Linked DNA regions of Homo sapiens: region 1 is linked to region 2. The links are contacts of gene promoters, found by promoter capture Hi-C in human tissues and cell types (Jung and others, 2019). All regions are on one chromosome and are shown on one strand. Each heading gives the region's core, a stretch centred on a gene start or on the middle of the fragment in contact. The rest is flanking DNA. Distances are from core to core; before and after follow the strand shown. Region 1 overlaps CCDC91 (coiled-coil domain containing 91). Region 2 holds the start of PTHLH (parathyroid hormone like hormone).

What was found. Contacts are between HindIII fragments. The study calls those that stand out against the background at their distance.
Region 1: a fragment that was not itself captured here is called in contact with the fragment with the promoter of PTHLH in region 2 in 1 of the 25 tissues and cell types used here (IMR-90 fibroblasts).

What each region holds. Positions count from the first base shown.
Region 1 is chr12:28,310,329-28,313,770 of GRCh38, reverse strand. All of the region lies in intron 6 of CCDC91 (coiled-coil domain containing 91), which reads right to left. Among named protein-coding and RNA genes, the nearest start is that of CCDC91, 120 kb to the right of the region's middle. RefSeq lists an enhancer at 460-629. The HindIII fragment of the contact is 7,107 bases long and covers 1-3,442 here.
Region 2 is chr12:27,970,766-27,974,300 of GRCh38, reverse strand. It overlaps PTHLH (parathyroid hormone like hormone), which reads left to right and starts at 1,568. Exons shown (of 6, transcript NM_198965.2): 1 at 1,568-1,778; 2 at 2,282-2,374. The HindIII fragment of the contact is 6,422 bases long and covers 1-3,445 here.

The DNA of each region.
Region 1 (3,442 bases), core at 669-3,168, 340 kb before region 2:
TCTGGTTAGGCTACACACCCTGGACAGAACAGGAAAAGGGGACATAGCACACACCCCCATTGTACTATAGAGTTCACAGTATTTATTTCCTTTTGTTATGGCACATTCACGCCTCTCCACCTATCCTGGTAATTAGACCATATCACATAAAATAACACTGTTAGAATTATCTGTAATCATTAATGTTGTTTTTTAAAAGTTTGTTTAAAGGTTTTACAAACATTCCATTTATTAATTACTCTTTCTCTTGTCAGACAAAAATTCTGACAGATACATCCAAAACCTGGCCTAAGTAGAGGAGTAGATTTTCCAAAACTGAAAACTCAGAGCCCAGTATTCTGAAATCAGGTGAAAATATTTAGAATTTTCATGGTGAGAAATAGCTATAAATTTTGTTTTCCTTTTTCTATATTGTCCACATTTTCCAGACTACACATACTATTTTTATAAATACATACACATACTAACATTTCTTAAGGAGAAAGAACTTCTCAGCTAATTTAATCTAGCAATATCTTACTGGACTCCTAAATGTTTTGCTTTATTTAGGATACCACAGAGATGCAGGCACCAGTATATTGTTCCTGTCATCATAAATAACTCTTTTCATTTCATTAAGCTTCACAGACATTTAAAAGACCTGTATGTTAGATACCTTGATATTAAAAAATTGCCATATTCTACAGAAAATATGTCATAAATAAGATTCAATTATCTAAAGGATGACTGGCAGACCATAAATCCAAACAAGAAATTTAATATATATTCACTGTTTGTATTAGTCCGTTTTCACACTGCTGATAAAGACATACCCGAGACTAGGCAACTTATAAAAGAAAGAGGTTTAATGGATTCACAGTTCCACTTGGCTGAGGAGGCCTGACAATCATGACGGAAAGTGAAAGGCACGTCTCACATGGCAGCAGACAAGAGAAGAGAACTTGCACAGGGAAACTTCCCTTTATAAAACCATCAGATCTCGTGAGACATTTACTATCACAAGAATAGCACAAGAAAGACACATCCCCATGATTCAATTATCTGCCACCAGGTCCCTCCCACAACATGTGGGAATTATGAAAACTACAATTCAAGATAAGATTTGAGTGGGGACACAGCCAAACCATATCACTATTTAAAAACTTACTTTGCTAATATTTCATCCTATACATATTTAACATACAGTAGCCTCCTTTGACACTCACAAATTTAATCACATCTCTTATTCCTAAGAAATTATTAGGTAGAAACGACTTTGTGTTAGTTTGAAAGAAGTCCATAACCCTCAGAAAGAACTGGATTGCAGAAAGGTCAAATACGGAAGCCTAAGATTTCTAAATTCTTCCTGAATCAGGTATTTACAGTACAATGTAAATATTTTTGTTGAAAATACACTTTCAGAATATCTAACACATACACATAAATATGCACAAACTTAGTAAATATAAAGCAGATATAGAGATTTATGTATTATCTCCCATTTCGAATTATCCATATATTTTTATGCATCCTTCCTCTATCTAGAATGACTCCATGGGAGCTCATTAACCTGTTTCCCCACCTCCAAAAAAAACCGACTCAAAGTTACCTGTTTCAAATTAATGTATTTTAACTTTGATATCAATTTCCTGATGTAGCTACAACAAAGAATAACTAAAATTTAAAAGGTTGCTTTCTATCCCACTTCCAGATTAAAATTAAAAAGACACACTTCTCCCTATTTCTATCAATAAATAGAGCTAAAAAGTTTGGACATTTTATTAAAACAAATTTAAGAGGATTCTGGAATGCAGAGGGAAGGCAGACTAACTAGGGACCTGGGAATCCAAGGAATGACAAAGCAGTGAGTTCTGTGAGTTTTCTTTTAGCCTCATATATCCCAAACTGGGGAGTGGAATAGCCAGCAACCAGGAAACACCAACAGGCACAAAAGCCCCAATAAAAGTCAATCCTCTGTAACAAAAGGGCCATCCATGAAAGGCACAATCTAGCAAGACAGAAAACTTTTAGACAATAAACATCCTACACCAACCAAATACCATGGAAAAAAAATTTAAAAAAAAACACGCATGGCCCTAACTTTGAAACTTTTAATCAACAGTAAACAATGACTCAAACAAAATACTTTCTTCTAAATAGTCATAGTGTAGGCCTATTGAACAATGTCCCTATAGGACACTGAAAAGACACACTGCTCACCTTTTTCCTTATTTCCAAGTTTCGCCTTTATTTTTAAACCACCTCTGTCACAAAAGGCCGAGTACTGAGCCTAGATTTCCACTCTCGCCCCAGCAACAATGCAGTGCCCATAGATGACCTCGATGTGGTATCAGAGAAAACCAAGTGGTTGTGAAGACAGTTTTAGGACTTCTATCCCCATCCAAAAGGAAAAAGACTCTCTCTCCCTCCTTTCCTGTGTCAGAGGAAGCTGAGTGGGAAGCCAGAACTTTTATAACTATCCAGAGGTAAGAAGATCTCACCTAATCTCACAGTAAGGCACCCGTGGAACAGTAATAAGGTGCCTCTCCTGCTCCCAGCCAGGGATGTATCTGCTAAGGCCTGTGGGAGCCCTGAAATCCCACCTTATCTCAGGAGTAAGGCAGTATCCCTCCTACCCAGGGTGTCAAAGGGGGCTGAGTGGAAAACTTGTCATTTTACTTGCACCTGACATTAACAAAATGGTTAATCTTTTCCCAAACTATACAGTATCAGATGAGGCCTGCTAAAATACAAGATTTAAATAAGATCCAAGGTATCATACAAAATACCCAAAATATGCAGGATAAAATTAAAATGCACTCATCATACTAAGAATCAGAAAAATCTCAACTTGGGTAAGAAAATACTATCAATAGTAACACTGAGATGACATTTTTCTAACAAGGATTTTAAAGCAACCATAATAAAAATGCTTCGGCAGGGAATTATGAAACATGCTTGAAACAAACAGAATAGAAAGTTTAAGCACAGAATGGAAGATATGAAGGAGAACCAAATGGAAATTTTAGAACTGAAATATACAATAACCAAATAAAAAACAAAGAATTGGCACATCAAATGAATGGAAGGGACTGAGGATAGAAATGCTTTCCTCAGAGATGGTATGGTGACATACAAACTGAACAGTATGCCTACTTTAACTTCGATTTGGCTATGAGACCTCCTGGTACATTTTTCTATAATTTATTTAGCCAAGGTGTTTAACACTCCGTAAGTTACTCTTTTATTCCCATGCTATAAAAAGGAGAGAGAAGCCTATAGGTCCTAAAATGAAGTCATCTGAAAAAAGTTTTCTTTGAAAGTACTGATTCCTACAAAAGGAACTAGCTTTGAAGACTCAAGTCATCACTCCTAGATTATCACTATTAATAGTAAACGCAGTGAGACAACAATGATAATGCCAGATAGCATTTATATTGGTCATTAATGTAAAAACAACCCA
Region 2 (3,535 bases), core at 319-2,818:
GGGCTTGGAACTCTCTCTGTGGCCTCGTACAAGTCCAGAGCTGCCTACTTTCAGGAGCCAAAAACTTGGCCAGCCAAGGGCAGGCATCTGGCTGGCTGGCACCAGTCCAGGAGATCAGGACTGGGACACTGCACATTCATATTCTCTCTCTCTCTCTCTCTCTCTCTCTCTCACACACACACACACACACACACACACACACACACAGAGACATATCTGAAGAAGACTCTTCAGATATGTTTCAATTGTCAGGAGTTTGCGAGGTGCTCAAGTGCTTGACCTTTAAGAACCGGTTCTCAGAGACCCCCATTTCCTAAAGACCTTCTCATCTCACATTGGTTTGGGTTCCTCCCAGGAAACCGCCTCCTCTCTGGGCCTCCTGCTTCAGTTTGGGGGAAGCAGAACATTGCCCAGGAAGTAGGGAAGGGTGAGGAAGGGTGTGAGGCCCACTTTTCCCATGGGAGGATCCCATCAGCTTGATGCATATCTATACACTCCTCCCTGAGGCAGTTCCTCCAGAGGTTAGCAGCCCGCCCTGTTCCTGGAGAAGTCTTATCCTCACCTAACTACAAAAAGATTTAATAAAGAAACACACCCTTTCCTATTGTTACTTGGGGTTTGAAGGCATTACATCTTTTTTTCTTTTTTGCTACCTTGAGGTCAGCTGGCAACAGCCTCCTCTCAAGTCTCAGTCCAGGCGAGCGATGAGAGCCACATTCTAATGGAATCCAATGAGAGCATTACTTGAGCTGATTATGCAACGTCTCTTTGTAAACATTGAAAAAAGTTTGGAGAAGAGATGGGATGAGTTTAGTTGTTTGGTTCCAGGGGATTTTAGAGACATAGCTTGCAGCTACAGATTGGTAAATGTGAAATCTGGATGCTTATTGGTAATAAGAGAATTCCCAAGCCCAGGTGCACTGTTTAAAGTGCTATAGATTCATATTTGGTTTATAATGTATATCTGTTTGCTGTTTGGGTTAAGGAGGAAAGAAGAAAGAAGGATGAAGAGGCTAAGCATAAATGCTATTTACTTTTTTCTAAGCTATGACAGGAGATATACATTAACTGGGTATTCAACTGAATTTAAGAGTAATGCATTTAAAATTTTTTCAACCTCTTTTAAAATTTGATATACTGTAATAAACTGCCACTGGGGATGGGAAGATGGAAGCCTGGTGCTCATGGGCTAGGCATTTGTGTAGGTGTAGATCTTATAATGCTAAACATGGAAATACTTCAGATTAGAGGCAGGCCTTCCCATTTGCTAAGGTGCATTTACATGACAGCAAGGCCTAAGCAAACATTTAGCTTCTATTGGCACTTGTTCTATTTCTAAACCTTAGAAAAAAGGTGTGTGTGTGGGCTGGGGGGACGGGGGGGGGAGGGAGGTGGTAGGGGGTGCTCTTGCTGTGTCTCATTTGCAGTCATGCATCCTCTGCATTATTATGATGGAGATTACTCAGTTATGTTAGGAACTAGATTATGATGTCAGAAAATATCCTTTCCAAAACAGGCAAAAAGTCAGGGTCCTGGGTATATATTGAGGAGAATTTCTACGGAAAGTAATAAACAGGGCAGCTTGGAAGAGGTACCTGCTTTCTAATAATTGCCTTTAGTGGGAACAGAAGTCTCCTTTCAAGAAGCTTTTAATTCATTTTAAGATTTAATTTTATGTTTTCTGAAGAACAACAAAAAATATTTCTGGAAAAGACTGCTGAGAAGATTTCCCTCTTTCAGCCAGAAGAGCAGAGAGAAGATTGTAAATCAAGGAAAAGGTGAAGTAATAAATTAGGAGGGAACTTTGGTATTCCGAGTATATAAAGACTATTTATTTTTCCTGTGTCTATATTTTCTCTTTTTGTGGAGGAGAGGAAATTCTAAAAATATTTGATAGATGTTTTGCCATTAACACCAGAAAAGTGTGTGGGGAAAAAGAAAGGAGGGAAGGAGTGGGGGGTTAATTTTGTTTAATTAGTAGAAAAAGCAACATAAATCAAAGCAGTCTATTGATGCCAGTCCTTAATTTATAATGTTCTGAAAGTAAAGTGAATTTATTTACAACATAAGTGATTTGATAATTTCAATCTGATTTTTGTTTTAACCTTCTATTGGGAGAAGGGTTGACTTTTTAAAGCCTGGATAGTTTGAAACTTGGCTAGGTACCTTGGACTTTTTATTGTGGAAGCAAATATTATCATTTCAATGTTAAACAACTTGCAAGTATTAAATGGCTCATTTGTGATTGACTTTTTTTTTTTTTTTTTTTTTTTTTTTACAGATTTCCCCCTTCAGATCTAACGATTACATTAGGGCTCCTGCATCTTTTTGGAAGGATTCTTTTTATAAATCAGAAAGTGTTCGAGGTTCAAAGGTTGACATTTCTGAGTGCTGATACTTTGTCCTTTCATACTATCCAAACAAGTCTAACATTTAGAAATCCTTACACATTCAAGGGAAGTTGTGGAAATTCCCAGAGAGAGAGTGTGTGTGTGTGCGTGTGTGTGTTTTGGTTTTGTTTTGCTTTTTTTCTTTGTTAGTGAGAAGAAGCCGAGTCTTTTAAGGTACGGGGTTTACAGTAATGAACTGAGGAAGGCAGGAGCTTCTAAGAAAATATGCCCCCCCACCCAACCTAAGCAGTAAACTTTAACTGCTAGCTAGCTGCAGTGAACCAGTGGGAGCCCCGATGAGCGAGGGTCTCGGTGACAGCGTGCTATTTCTCCCACCCTGGGTAAAATATGTGGAGCATCACCCGGAAAGTCGGGCTTGATAAAGGCCACATTCCTTGAATCATCTCAAGAATCTAAATCACACTAGCCTTCTAGAAACTAATGAACCCTACCAGCAGGATTGCCTAGAAGACAAATATCCCTTGAATGGTTCCCAGTCCACTCGCGCTCTTTTCAAAAAGTTAGAGGAGCCCTGGGGAGGGTATCCACTCCCGCTGCAATCCTTTCCTAGATGATACTACCCAGTAATTCCGAGCAGTCTTTCTTCCCCGCCCATTAGCTTTGGAAAGAACCTCGGCTTTCCCGTCGCTTCTCCCAGGCAGAGCAGCACATAACCATAGTTCCACTGCATCTGTCCGCTGGCTGCAGCGACTCGGATACAGTCTTCCAAGAATCTGTAACCTGGGACTTTTGAGGGGGAGGGGACAAGCAGGTAGGGTATCAGAGAAAGGATGGGTTAGACTCCCGACCATGAGTGAAAAGGGCCGTGTGCGTGCTCCAGGAGTGTCGGTCCCCCTCTGCAATTCAAAAGGGGGATCTCTCCTGTGCGCGGGTTTTTTGGGACCGGCTCCAGATGTCTCCCAGCAGTTCTGAAACAGCAAAAAGTGCAATTTAGATATGAAATCTGGAACTGTTTTTGTTCTTCTAAGCAAAAGATCTCCCTCTCTCTAGCCGATGCTCCCCACTCAGTTCATCCCGGGAATGGGCCAGGGAGGAAGGTTCTCATGCATCGCCCCGAGCTGCCAGGCGAGCTTCGGGCTCCTTAAATTCACAGGCCAACAGCCCGCGTCCTCTCCGCGCAGGCT